2 separate regions of the Homo sapiens genome follow, and region 2 is linked to region 1. Evidence: promoter capture Hi-C in human tissues and cell types (Jung and others, 2019). All regions are on one chromosome and are shown on one strand. The core of a region is centred on a gene start or on the middle of the fragment in contact, and the rest is flanking DNA. Distances in the headings are between cores, read along the strand shown. Region 1 holds the start of CUX2 (cut like homeobox 2). Region 2 has its middle 26 kb from the start of LINC01404.

Evidence for each region. Contacts are between HindIII fragments. The study calls those that stand out against the background at their distance.
Region 2: a fragment that was not itself captured here is called in contact with the fragment with the promoter of CUX2 in region 1 in 1 of the 25 tissues and cell types used here (mesendoderm cells).

Annotation. Positions count from the first base shown.
Region 1 is chr12:111,031,113-111,036,463 of GRCh38, forward strand. It overlaps CUX2 (cut like homeobox 2), which reads left to right and starts at 3,053. Exons shown (of 22, transcript NM_015267.4): 1 at 3,053-3,128. The coding sequence starts at 3,066. The HindIII fragment of the contact is 13,154 bases long and covers 1-5,351 here.
Region 2 is chr12:110,980,861-110,986,211 of GRCh38, forward strand. No RefSeq gene overlaps it. Among named protein-coding and RNA genes, the nearest start is that of LINC01404, 26 kb to the left of the region's middle. The HindIII fragment of the contact is 3,847 bases long and covers 1,050-4,896 here.

The DNA of each region.
Region 1 (5,351 bases), core at 1,803-4,302:
TTTCTTTTAATGCACTTTCAGATTCCTAGAAATCTTGCCAAGAAAGTAGAAGGAATTTCTGTGTACTAGTCACCTAGAATCTTCAAATGTTAACATTTTGCAACATTGCTTTATCACTGTGTCTAGGTAGACATATATAGATAAATAAATAGGTACATATTATTTTCATCTGCATTGCTTGAGAGTTGGAGACATGATGTCTGTCCCTTTATCCCTAAATACTTCAGTGTGTTCTCTAAAAACAAGGATATTTTGTTACATAGCCACAGTATAATAGTCAAAATCAGGAAATTAACATCGATATAACACTATTATCTGATCTATTGACTTTATTTTAAATTTGTCATTGGTTCTAATTCATCCACTTTATAGTAAAAGAAAATCCAGGATCGTACGTTATAATCACTTGTCAAGTCTCTTTAGTTTCCTTTAATTGGAAATAGTTCCTCCATTATTGTGTGTTTCATGTGCCACTGATGTTTTTGAAGTGAACAGGCTGTTTATTTTGTAGAATTTTCCCCTCCATTTGGGGTTGTCTGATATTTCTTCACAATTAGATTTAGATTATACCTCTTTGGCAGGAATACCACAGAAGTGATCTGTCCTTCAAGCACAACATATCAGGAGGTACACGATGTCAGTGCGTCCTGTTCCTGCAAAATCACACATAAGTTTAAAATAATTTTCTTCATCAAACCCTTGGCTTGTTAAACATTGCTTGGAAGGGTTTCACACGCACTCTAGTAGGACTTTAAAAAGCAGACCCAAAGACAAGGAAGCCACAAGCTTTACAGATGCTCAGGAGAAAAATGTAGCCATTTAAAAAATTGTAATGTGATAGTTATGAAATTTCCCTAAATTCATTTTGCAGAATGAGAGCTGTAATTTAAACCTGAAGTTATCGAGAGCTGAGATAAACCACACATCACGTGCAATTTAATCTGGCAGGGAAACAGGCCACTCGGAATTGCTAACTAGGCCTAATTCATTACATCTCGGTGAATGCAGTACTTTTGGTCTTACGCGTCTTTCAACTCCTGCATTAATATATTTACCCAGACCTCATGGAAAATGTATGGGAATGGAAACAGAAATACTGTATCCTTGTTTAAATCACATTTCATTTTTTAAACAGCTCAAATGATTGCTCAGAAAGATCACACCTTCTTCCGAAGCATTTATGAAACAATTATTTACATTACATTAAAAACTTTAATTGCCTCAAAGCACGTGCTCTGAGACACAAATATTGGAAAATCATCAAAAATATCCATCATGATTCTCTCTTCTTTATAACTCTTCTAAACTTTATCTTTTTTATAACCCACTGTATTGATCTATTGTCCCAGACCAAGAGTGATGTCAGAAGTCTAGGCTGGGTCATAAAAAGAATATAATTTCCATTTGCTGTCCATAAAAGCAAATCTTTTGATCAGAGAAAAAGGAAAAACATGTCCCCTTTTTTTGAGTGGGGAAGAGGGTGCGGTGCTATGTATCAGGGGAATAAGCCAGAGAGGAAGGGTGACCTCACCTTTAAGGGTGGTGGCAGGGATAGGCAAGGGGGTTGGTGATGGAGGGGGCTGGGAGTATGAGTTCCCCCTGGAGGTGACATCTCACCTCCAGGGGAAGTGGAAACAGAGGACCTCGAGCTTGCACAGAGGCAAAAACAAACAAACAAACAAACAAACAAACAAACAAAAAAGCAGACAGAAAAATGTAAAACAAGAAATCCAGTCACCCCGGTTGTCAAGAGTCCGAAGAATTGCAAAGGACCGGAACCTCCCTCTAGCCATGCTGAAGACCCTCTCCCCAAAGACAATCACAATAAAGGAATGTCATGTTGCAAAGAACGGAGCCCCGGATAATAATGATGATAACAACAGCAGAAACCTCCGAGGTTTTTAAGGATCCGGAGCCCCCACAGCAGGGGTAGGGCACCCTCAACAGTCATAACAATAAAACAAGCCCACTGGGGGAAAAGGCCCTCCAGAGGTTTGGTTCAGAACCAAATAACAAAACCTCCAATAATCATCATCACAGTAAAAGGGTTTCACCTTGCAAAGCTGTGGGGGAGTCCCTATAATTGGGTTAAAGACCCCCCAGATAATAACAACAGAAATCCCTATTCCAAAGGACCTGAGGCCCCGCCCTCGGCCCCCGCCCGTAAAGAACCCTGAGCTACTACTCAGACGAAGCCCCCCTCCCCGCCAATAATAATAATATAATGGCGCGGAAACTGTGGGCGGTGGTGGTGACATTTCCCACGACTCAGTGGCGCCCCCGGGCGGCTCCCACCCTCCCTCCGGCCGGCGCGTCTACGCAGCCCCAAGTGCTGGCTGCGACCCTCGGATCCCAAGCATATCTGGCGATGGAGCGGCGGCAGCCCGAGGCACGTGTTGTGTGTGCTCCGATTGCAAAAGAAAAAAAAATGCATTTCAAACTATTAACTTTTTTTTAAGCGTGCAATGCCGGGAGCTGGGGGTAGACAGGTGCAAGCGGGGGTAGGCGCCCCGCGCGCCCGCCTCCCGCAGCGCCCCCTCCCAAACTTCCCTTTGCATTGATCAGCACGTTACGTCAGTATTGATAAGTTTGCAAAAAGCCAAAGTCAAGTGCAATCGCGCGGCACACCGACCCCGGACTTGGGGGGGAGATGCAGCGAGCGCTCCGCGGGCCCGGGAGCCGGCGGCAGGCAGGGCAGCGGCGGCGCCGGCGCCTCTCGGAGAGGCTGCCTCCCCCCAACCCCTCCCCTCCCACCCCATCCCCGGCTGCCTCCCCCGGGCGGGCGCCGAGCTCCCCGCCCGGCGCGCTCCGCCCGCGCCCTCCGGGGGTCGGGGGGGCGCACGGCTCCCGGGCCCGTTGGCGGCGGCGGCGGCGGCGGCGCGGCGGCGGCGAGGGGCAGCGGGTGGCAGGAGGCCGGAGGGCGCCCGAGGGGCCCCGGGCCGCGGCGCTCAGGGCCCGGGCGGCCGGCGGCGGCCCCGGGGCTGGGGGGAGTCCAGCCCGGATATTGAGTGCAGCCATTGAGAAAAGCCAAACTCTTGTGTGTGCGCGTCTCGATAGCCCCCAAGATGGCCGCCAATGTGGGATCGATGTTTCAATATTGGAAGCGATTTGATCTACGGCGACTCCAGGTTAGTGCGGGCAGCGCCGGCCGCGCGGCCGTGAGGAGCCCCCGGGCGCGCCCTGGGCGCATTGGGGAGGTCCCCGGGCGGGCAGGCGGACGCCCTGGGGCGGCGGGCGGCGGCTGCCGGGGCTCGCCGGGGCTCGGCCGCCCGCTGCCCATCGATAGGTATTAGGAATTGATCTCGCCGCTGCTCTTTGTTCGGTTCAGTCATCGATTAGCTGCCGCGACCATGGAGAAGCGCTAGTGAGCCCTCGGTCGGCGGAGCGGCCGAGCGGCCAGGCGGCCGGGCGAGGAGCGGGGAAGGCAGGGGCTACGGCCTCGGGCAGGGGGCTGCTGGCGGGAACCCCCGGCGGTCCCCCCTGAGCCGCACTTTGCGCGCCTCCCAACTTCGCGGCGCCCGGGGAGGCCGCGGAGCGCGCCGCTTGCCAGTCCGCACCCGGCTGGGGCTCCGGCGAGGGAGGGAGGGAGCTGGCGGGCAGGGAGGAGGAGGAGGAGAGGAGGAGGAGGAGGAGAGAGGAGGAGGGAGCCGGGGTTGGCGAGGAGGCGGCTCCGCGCCCCGCCGCTCGCCGGCACCTCAGCCTTCGCCGCCCGCCTGGCTGCGCAGCCCGGACGCGCCGCCACCCGGGGGCCGCCGCCGCCGCCGCCAGAGCCGCCGCCGCCGGACTGGCCGCAAGCGCCGGCAGACCTCTTCTCCTCGGGCCGGGGTCTTGGGGTTCGTCTTGCTTCTTGCCTTTACCCCCCCGCCCCTTCCATCCCCTTCCCAAGTCTAGATGCAGACGGGCGGTGGAGGTGGGCCCGGGCGCTCGCAAGTTTGCGCTCCTGCCTCCAGGGCGGTGGAGAGCCGGGAGCGGCGCAGAGCAGGTGACTCCCAGCCCTCGGGCCCAAGGGAACTTTTAAATGAGAGATTTCCTTGCTTGTTCTGCCTCCTGCGTTTCTCCCCGCTGCTCCCCTCGTCTCCTCTCTCCCGTCTCTGCTTTTCTTCTGTTTCTTTCCTCTCTTCCCTGCTCTTTCTCTCTCCTTCCCTAGGGCGACTCTTCGAAACCCCATCACTTTCTCCCCATCCTCCCTTTGTGGGAGTCTGTGTGCCTCCCCTAGATTTGGAGGTGTTCTCTGCGGACCCCGTAGGAGCCGGGGCTGGGAGGTGGAATCTCAGAGAACGCACCGTGGAGGCGCGGCTCCGGCCTCTGTTCTTTCCCGGAGTGCCCCGGACGCGCCTGGCAAGGCCCCCCAGCCTTGGAGTCTCGCAAAGTCTCGGCGGGTGCGGCGGGGATCAGGGGCGGGAAAATGGTGCGGATAACAGGGCGGTTAGAGCATCCTGCCTTGACCGTGACATTCGCGGAAGACGCGAGATCATCAGTCTGGAGATAAAAAGGGACCCACTTTTTTTTTTTTTTTTAATCCGCCGGCAAATCTCGTTAAGTTTCTTCTGATAAGTGGTTCCAGCACCCGCGCCTTCTCCCCGTCCTGGCCGCTTCCCAGTCCCCGTCCTTCCGAACGCCCCACTCCTCGCTCTCCCCCTCCCCCAAAGCCATTGAGCTGGGGAGAAAATCGGGGCACTGAGGCATGCAGTTAATAACTGCCGAGTGCCTTGCAATTCCGGGTCCGCACTCGAGTTGGGGCTACAGTTTGGTGGCCAACTGAGACGGGCAGGGCTGCGAGCTGTGCCTGCCGGCTTAAATGATGCTAAAGTGGCCTTTCTGGAAGAGTGGGGGTTATGGAGGCAGAGAGAGAGAGAGAGAGGGAGAATTGGGCAGCCACATTGGGCTTGGCACGAAGGCCAATGGTAATCGTATTCCCTGCTAATGTTTGTAAATGAGACCCGGGCACGGCTGGGGGACAGCGTCTTTATTTATGATTGATGTTCTGTAACATAAGGAATGACAAGAACGTGGCACACAAGAGGAGAGGAACCAGAAGGGCTGGCGAAAGCCCTTTGCAGGGTCCTATTGTTATTCTGGGCTGGAGAAAATTTCCGCGGCGAGATTTACAGCGCTGGTATTTGCTCCCGGTCGGCCGGAATGTCAGTTAACACAATTTTCATTAGATAACTCGTTTTCAATCCGGGGAGCTCGGGCTGCAGCCCGGGGAGAGGCAGGGGCTGGGTGCTGAGGGGAGGGTGCGGCTCCCAGGGGGCTAATGTCTGAACTAGGGAGGTTGGAACCTCACTGTCTTCAGTCTTCTACCCAAGGGGTCTTTTGTGGAACGGTTGAGGTCACCCAAATCTTGATTC
Region 2 (5,351 bases), core at 1,723-4,222, 50 kb before region 1:
ACGGAAGGCAGGTGGGAAGAGAGAGAAAGTGGAGGAACAGACATGAGGAAGGAGTGAGGCAGGGAGGGCTGGTTGGCTGGCAGAGAGACAAGGGCCCTCCTCACCCAGGTGAGTGGCTGCAGACCCAGGTGCCCAGTGGTAGGGACATGAGCTCCAGGCCAATGGCTGCTCCCACCTCCACCCCTCAGAAACACAGACCTCTGCTGCCTCCTGATAGCGCCAGCATCCCTGTAAGCATCCTCTGAAGAAGCTTCCAGAACGAAGAAGCTGTCCTGATCCAAACTGCTATGAAACTTGGGACAGGGGACCAGGCATGGTGGCTCACGCCTGTATTCCTAGAACTTTGGGAGGCTGACGTGGGTGGATTGCTTGAGGCCAGGAGTTCGAGACCAGCCTGGCCAACATGACGAAAACCCATCTCTACTAAAAATACAAAAATTAGCTGGGTGTGGTGGCGCATGCCTGTAATCCCAGCTACTTGGGAGGCTGAAACACAAGAATTGCTTGAACCTGGGAGGCAGAGGTTGCAGTGAGCCAAGATTGTGCCACTGCACTCCAGCCTGGGCAACAGAGCAAGACTCTGTCTCAAAAACAAGCAAACAAACCTGGGACAGGGGACATCTGTAAAATGGACATCACAGGGCCCAGTTCCCCAGTTCTCCTCAACACCCTCTCTAACACTTACCCACTTTATCCACAGACAATACCTGCTGGCCCCTAAATGTCAATGGGGCCTGCGACCCCTGGTCTAGAGGCCACGTGTTTTTGTTCTCCACTGAATGACAAGGTGTCATTTCCAGGCTTCATAGAAATGTGCATCAGGCTGGGCGCGGTGGCTCATGCCTGTAATCCCAGCACTTTGGGAGGCCGAGATGGGTGGATCGCCTGAGGTCAGGAGTTCGAGACCAACCTGGCCACTACACTGGTGGTGGCCCATCTGGCGAAACCCTGTCTCTACTAAAAATACAAAAATTATCTGGAGGTGGTGGCCTGCACCTGTAATTCCAGCTACTCAGGAGGCTGAGGCAGGAGAGTCGCTTGAAGCCAGGAAGCAGAGGTTGCAGTGAACAGAGATCACACCACTGCACTCCAGCCTGGGCCACAGAGTGTGACTCTGTCTCAAAAAAAAGAGAAAAAGAAATGTGCACCAGATTCCTGACCACACACCCGGCATCTTGGGACACACAGAGTGGTAGAGGCAAATCTGCAGATTCTACAGCAGAAATTTTTCATCCTCCGTTTATTCTTTCTATGATCATCACCAAATATTGAGGAGCTTTGCTATTCTTGGAAATATTTCCACTAAACAGAAAACACTCAGTTCATTGGCTTTCCAATTCAGGCATCCTTTGATTTGGATTCACTTCTTGGTTGACTAGAATATATCTTCAAGTAGCTTTTTCAAAAGATCATACAAGTATTACATTCTCTGAGCCCTTGACTATCAGAGAATGTTCCTTAGTTGCTTTCACACATGAGTAATAACTTGATCGAGTATAAAATTACTATGAACATAATTTTGCTCTGTAACTCTGAGGCTACTGCTCCATATTGGGGTTGCATATGTGAAATTCAATTCTTACCTTTCTCAGGCAACCTGTGTTTTCAACTTGGACCCTTAGAGGTTTTTCCTTGAAATATTTTTAAGGGCATGTTGGTAGGGATGGGAGCTTGTTTCCAAGATGGCCACCATCCATTCCTTCATTTCCCGTACATGCAAGCCTTTCCCGATTGAGAAGTACAATCTCTTTCTCCACTTCTTTGACTTGACCAATAGAGTGAAATGGAAAAGAAGACTCTCAGAAGACTGTGTGCCTTCTGAAGCTAGGCACAGAAGAAGCCTTGAAGCTTATTCCGGGGCTTCTTAGAACATTCAGTTTGGAGGAAGCCAGCCACCATGGGAGAAGCCCAGTCACCTTGATTGAGACTGCCAGGCTGTGAGGAGGCTGAAGCTAGCCCACAGACAGGTGGAGTGAAGAGAAAGAGATGCCCAGCCAGCCCCTACCTGTTCCCGCCATCCCAGCCCAGATCCCAGACACAACGGTAGAAGCCTTCAAATGATCTAATCCCTGCCACCAGCTGACTGCAACCAGAGACCCTGAGCAAGGTCACCCAGCTGTGCCGAGGGCACCCACAGAATCATCAGAGATAATAGTGAGATGATGGGGTTCATTACAAAGCAAAAGATAGCCAGAAAAATGTGCGCTTCTTCTCAGTAATTTTGCCTGAATTGTGATAAGTCCTTTTTCCTGTATAGTTGGCCTTTTTTTTTTTTTTTTTTTGGAGGAGTCTCACTCTGTCACTCAGGCTGGGGTGCAGTGGTATGATCTTGGCTCACTGCAACCTCCAACTCCCAGGTTCAAGCAGTTCTTCTGCCTCAGCCTCCCAAGTAGCTGGGATCACTGTCATGCACTACCATGCCCGGCCAATTTTGTATTTTTAGTAGAGATGGGGTTTCACCATGTTAGCCAGGCTGGCCTTGAACTCCTGACCTCAAGTGATCTACCCACATCAGCCTCCCAAAGTGCCGGGATTACAGGTGTAAGCCACCACACCCAGCAACTTGGGCTTTATTTTTTTCTGACCCAGAATGCTTTCTGTAATTTTTGTCCATGTTTGTTTTTGCATTTTATTTCTTTTTTTCCATCATGAATGCCCGTTTTCCTTAAGCTGATATTGCCCCTCATAAATAATCTTTCTGTCCATAACATTTATCATTTTTCCTCTTTATGCTACAAGAGCTTCTCGAGCTTGGCTCCCATATTACTGATTTTGGTTTCCTGCAAGGTCACTGCTGCACTTTAACCACCCCCACTGGGGATTTAAATTCTGTCATTGCAATCATAGTTTTGCTTTTGTTTTTTAATCTCTGTCTACACTGTTCTTAGAAACTTCTGCTCCTATTTTATTGAAATTATCCCCTTTGTATATGTTCTATGTAGCACACAAGACAAATTTCCATTGTTTTTCTTCTGGGACACACAGTGAATATTTTTTAAAGGTAGCTTCTTCCTTTTAGAAAGACATTTCCTTCCTCTCATTATGCAGTAATTTTTTGCATACTCTCCACCGATTGACTTTTGTTTATTCATCTTTGCAGAAGCTGGTTATTACCTAGGCTTGTGTTTACCGACAGACAGGTTGTGTGAATTGCCCTCAGTACTTCTCATTGTCCACTAAAGTACCGGTTGACCCCAGCTCCTCACCCCAAACGCCACCATTTTATTTGTTATTTATTTATTTATTTATTGAGACAGGGACACTCTGTTACCCTGACTGGAATGCAGTGGTGCGATCTCGGCTCACTGCAACCTCTGTCTCCCGGGCTCAAGTGATCCTCACACCTCAGCCTGCCAGGTAGCTGGGACTATAGGCACCCACCACCACGCCCAGCTGACTTTTTAAATATTTTGTAGAGATGGGATTTCACCATGTTGCCCAGGCTGGTCTTGAACTCTGGGCTCAAGCCATCCACCCGCCTTGGTCTCCCAAAGTGTTGGGATTACAGTCATGAGCCACTGTGCCCAGCCACCACCACTTTATAATCTAAACCTGGAGAGGAAAGGCTGGCTGGTCTGTACAGCAACTAGAGGCAGTGTCAACCAGGTGCTCGCCTATTACACTGTGTTGAACTGAGGAGGGAACCCCTTCTATCCCACTGCACTGTTGGCTCTTTGGCACAATGAACTAAAAGAAATGCATTAAAAACTATAATCCCCAGCACGCACTCCATTCCATGGGCAATAGCACTTCTGGGAGTTGTCCCTCTTGGGAATCAAAGTGCTTTTGACATTCTTCCCTCTATTTTATCTCCCCTGACCTATATAGTCTTCTAGAAACTTCATTTTTTTAAATGTTTTAATTTTTATTTTTTTGAGACAAAGTCTTTATCTCTCATCCAGGCTGGAGTGCAGTGGTGCAATCATAGCTCACTGCAGCCTCAAACTCCTGGGTTCAAGTGATCCTCCCACCTCAGCCTCCCAAGTAGCTGGGACCACAGGTGTGCACCACCACACCCAGCTAATTTTTGTATTTTTAGTACAGACGGGGTCTCGCTATGTTGCCCAGGCTGGTTTCTAACTATTGGCCTCAAGTGATCCTCCTGCCTCAACCTCCCAAACTGTTGGGATTTGAGGCGTGAGGCACCATGGCTGGCCTTGGAAACTTCAGTCTCTAACTTCAGTAGAACTATGGGCCAGTAAGAAAAAGAGTACTTCACCTATAAAATTACACACCCCTCCTCACCACACAGTGGAGAAAACTTCCACCCCTCCTCCAACCCCAAGTTTCTGATTGGCACAGACTCCGGGTCTCAGAGACTGGGGTTGCAAGCAGGGAAATTGTTGAGTACTTTTCGACCTCTTTTTGGCCTGGAGTGGTTCCCCTAACTCAGGAGATAAAACTTGAACAGAATCCCCATTGTTTATCTCAACCCATCTCCATCTGCCTTGTATTTATGGAAATTCCTCCCAGATTCTAGCAAAAAGGGCCTGTCAGTCTTGGGTGTCAGCACTGTGAGTTTTCAATTCTTTCTGCCTTCTTAGGTATTTTAGTGGAAAGCTGGGAAAATACGTCTCAGGAGCTTCTACTCTGGTGCCAGTTTAAGTTGACCCTCTTCCCCTTACAGTTTCACCTACTTTTTCACTCATTCACTCATTCAATCAACAAACATTTATGGGAAACTTAAAGTGTGCGGGGTATGATACCATACACTGGGAAGCAGAAGGTGAATTGAAGCTTCTCCTTGCCCTTGGAAGAGCCTCTCTTTTGGAGGAAGCACTGTCATAGTTCTCGTATGAGTACAGGAGTGGTGTGTGATGCTGAGACTTCGATAAACCAGAGAGGTTAAGTGACCTGTGCAAGGCTGCACAGTAAATTGGAGCAAGATCCAGAGAAGAGGCTGGTTCTCCTGGTTCTCCAGTCCACATTCCTCCCACTGTGTCTCCTGGCCTCCTCCTTCTTATCATCCTGAGTTTCCTCTCCAGCTCTCCCATGGCTGGGATAACTTATAGCCATTGCTCCATTCCTTACAGATATTTATGTGTGGAGTTCAAGCTTCTCCCCAGTTCTCACCCAGCCCCTGGTCCTTCTCACCCTAGAGCCCTTTTTTGGGCTAGGAACACCTCATATCACAAACTGGAGAAGGTGCCAAGAGGTCTCTGCTACACTCTTCTTATGTTGGTGGCCTATGACTTAACCCCTTTGCTTTTCTCCTTTGACCAGGTCTTTAGAGCAAATGGGCTGATGTCTGTGACCTTCAGATTCAGACAATCTGCTCAAAGCCCCACTCTGACACCTCTTTGCTGTGTGCCCTTGGCCAAGTTACTTGCTGTCTCTGAACTTCATCTCTT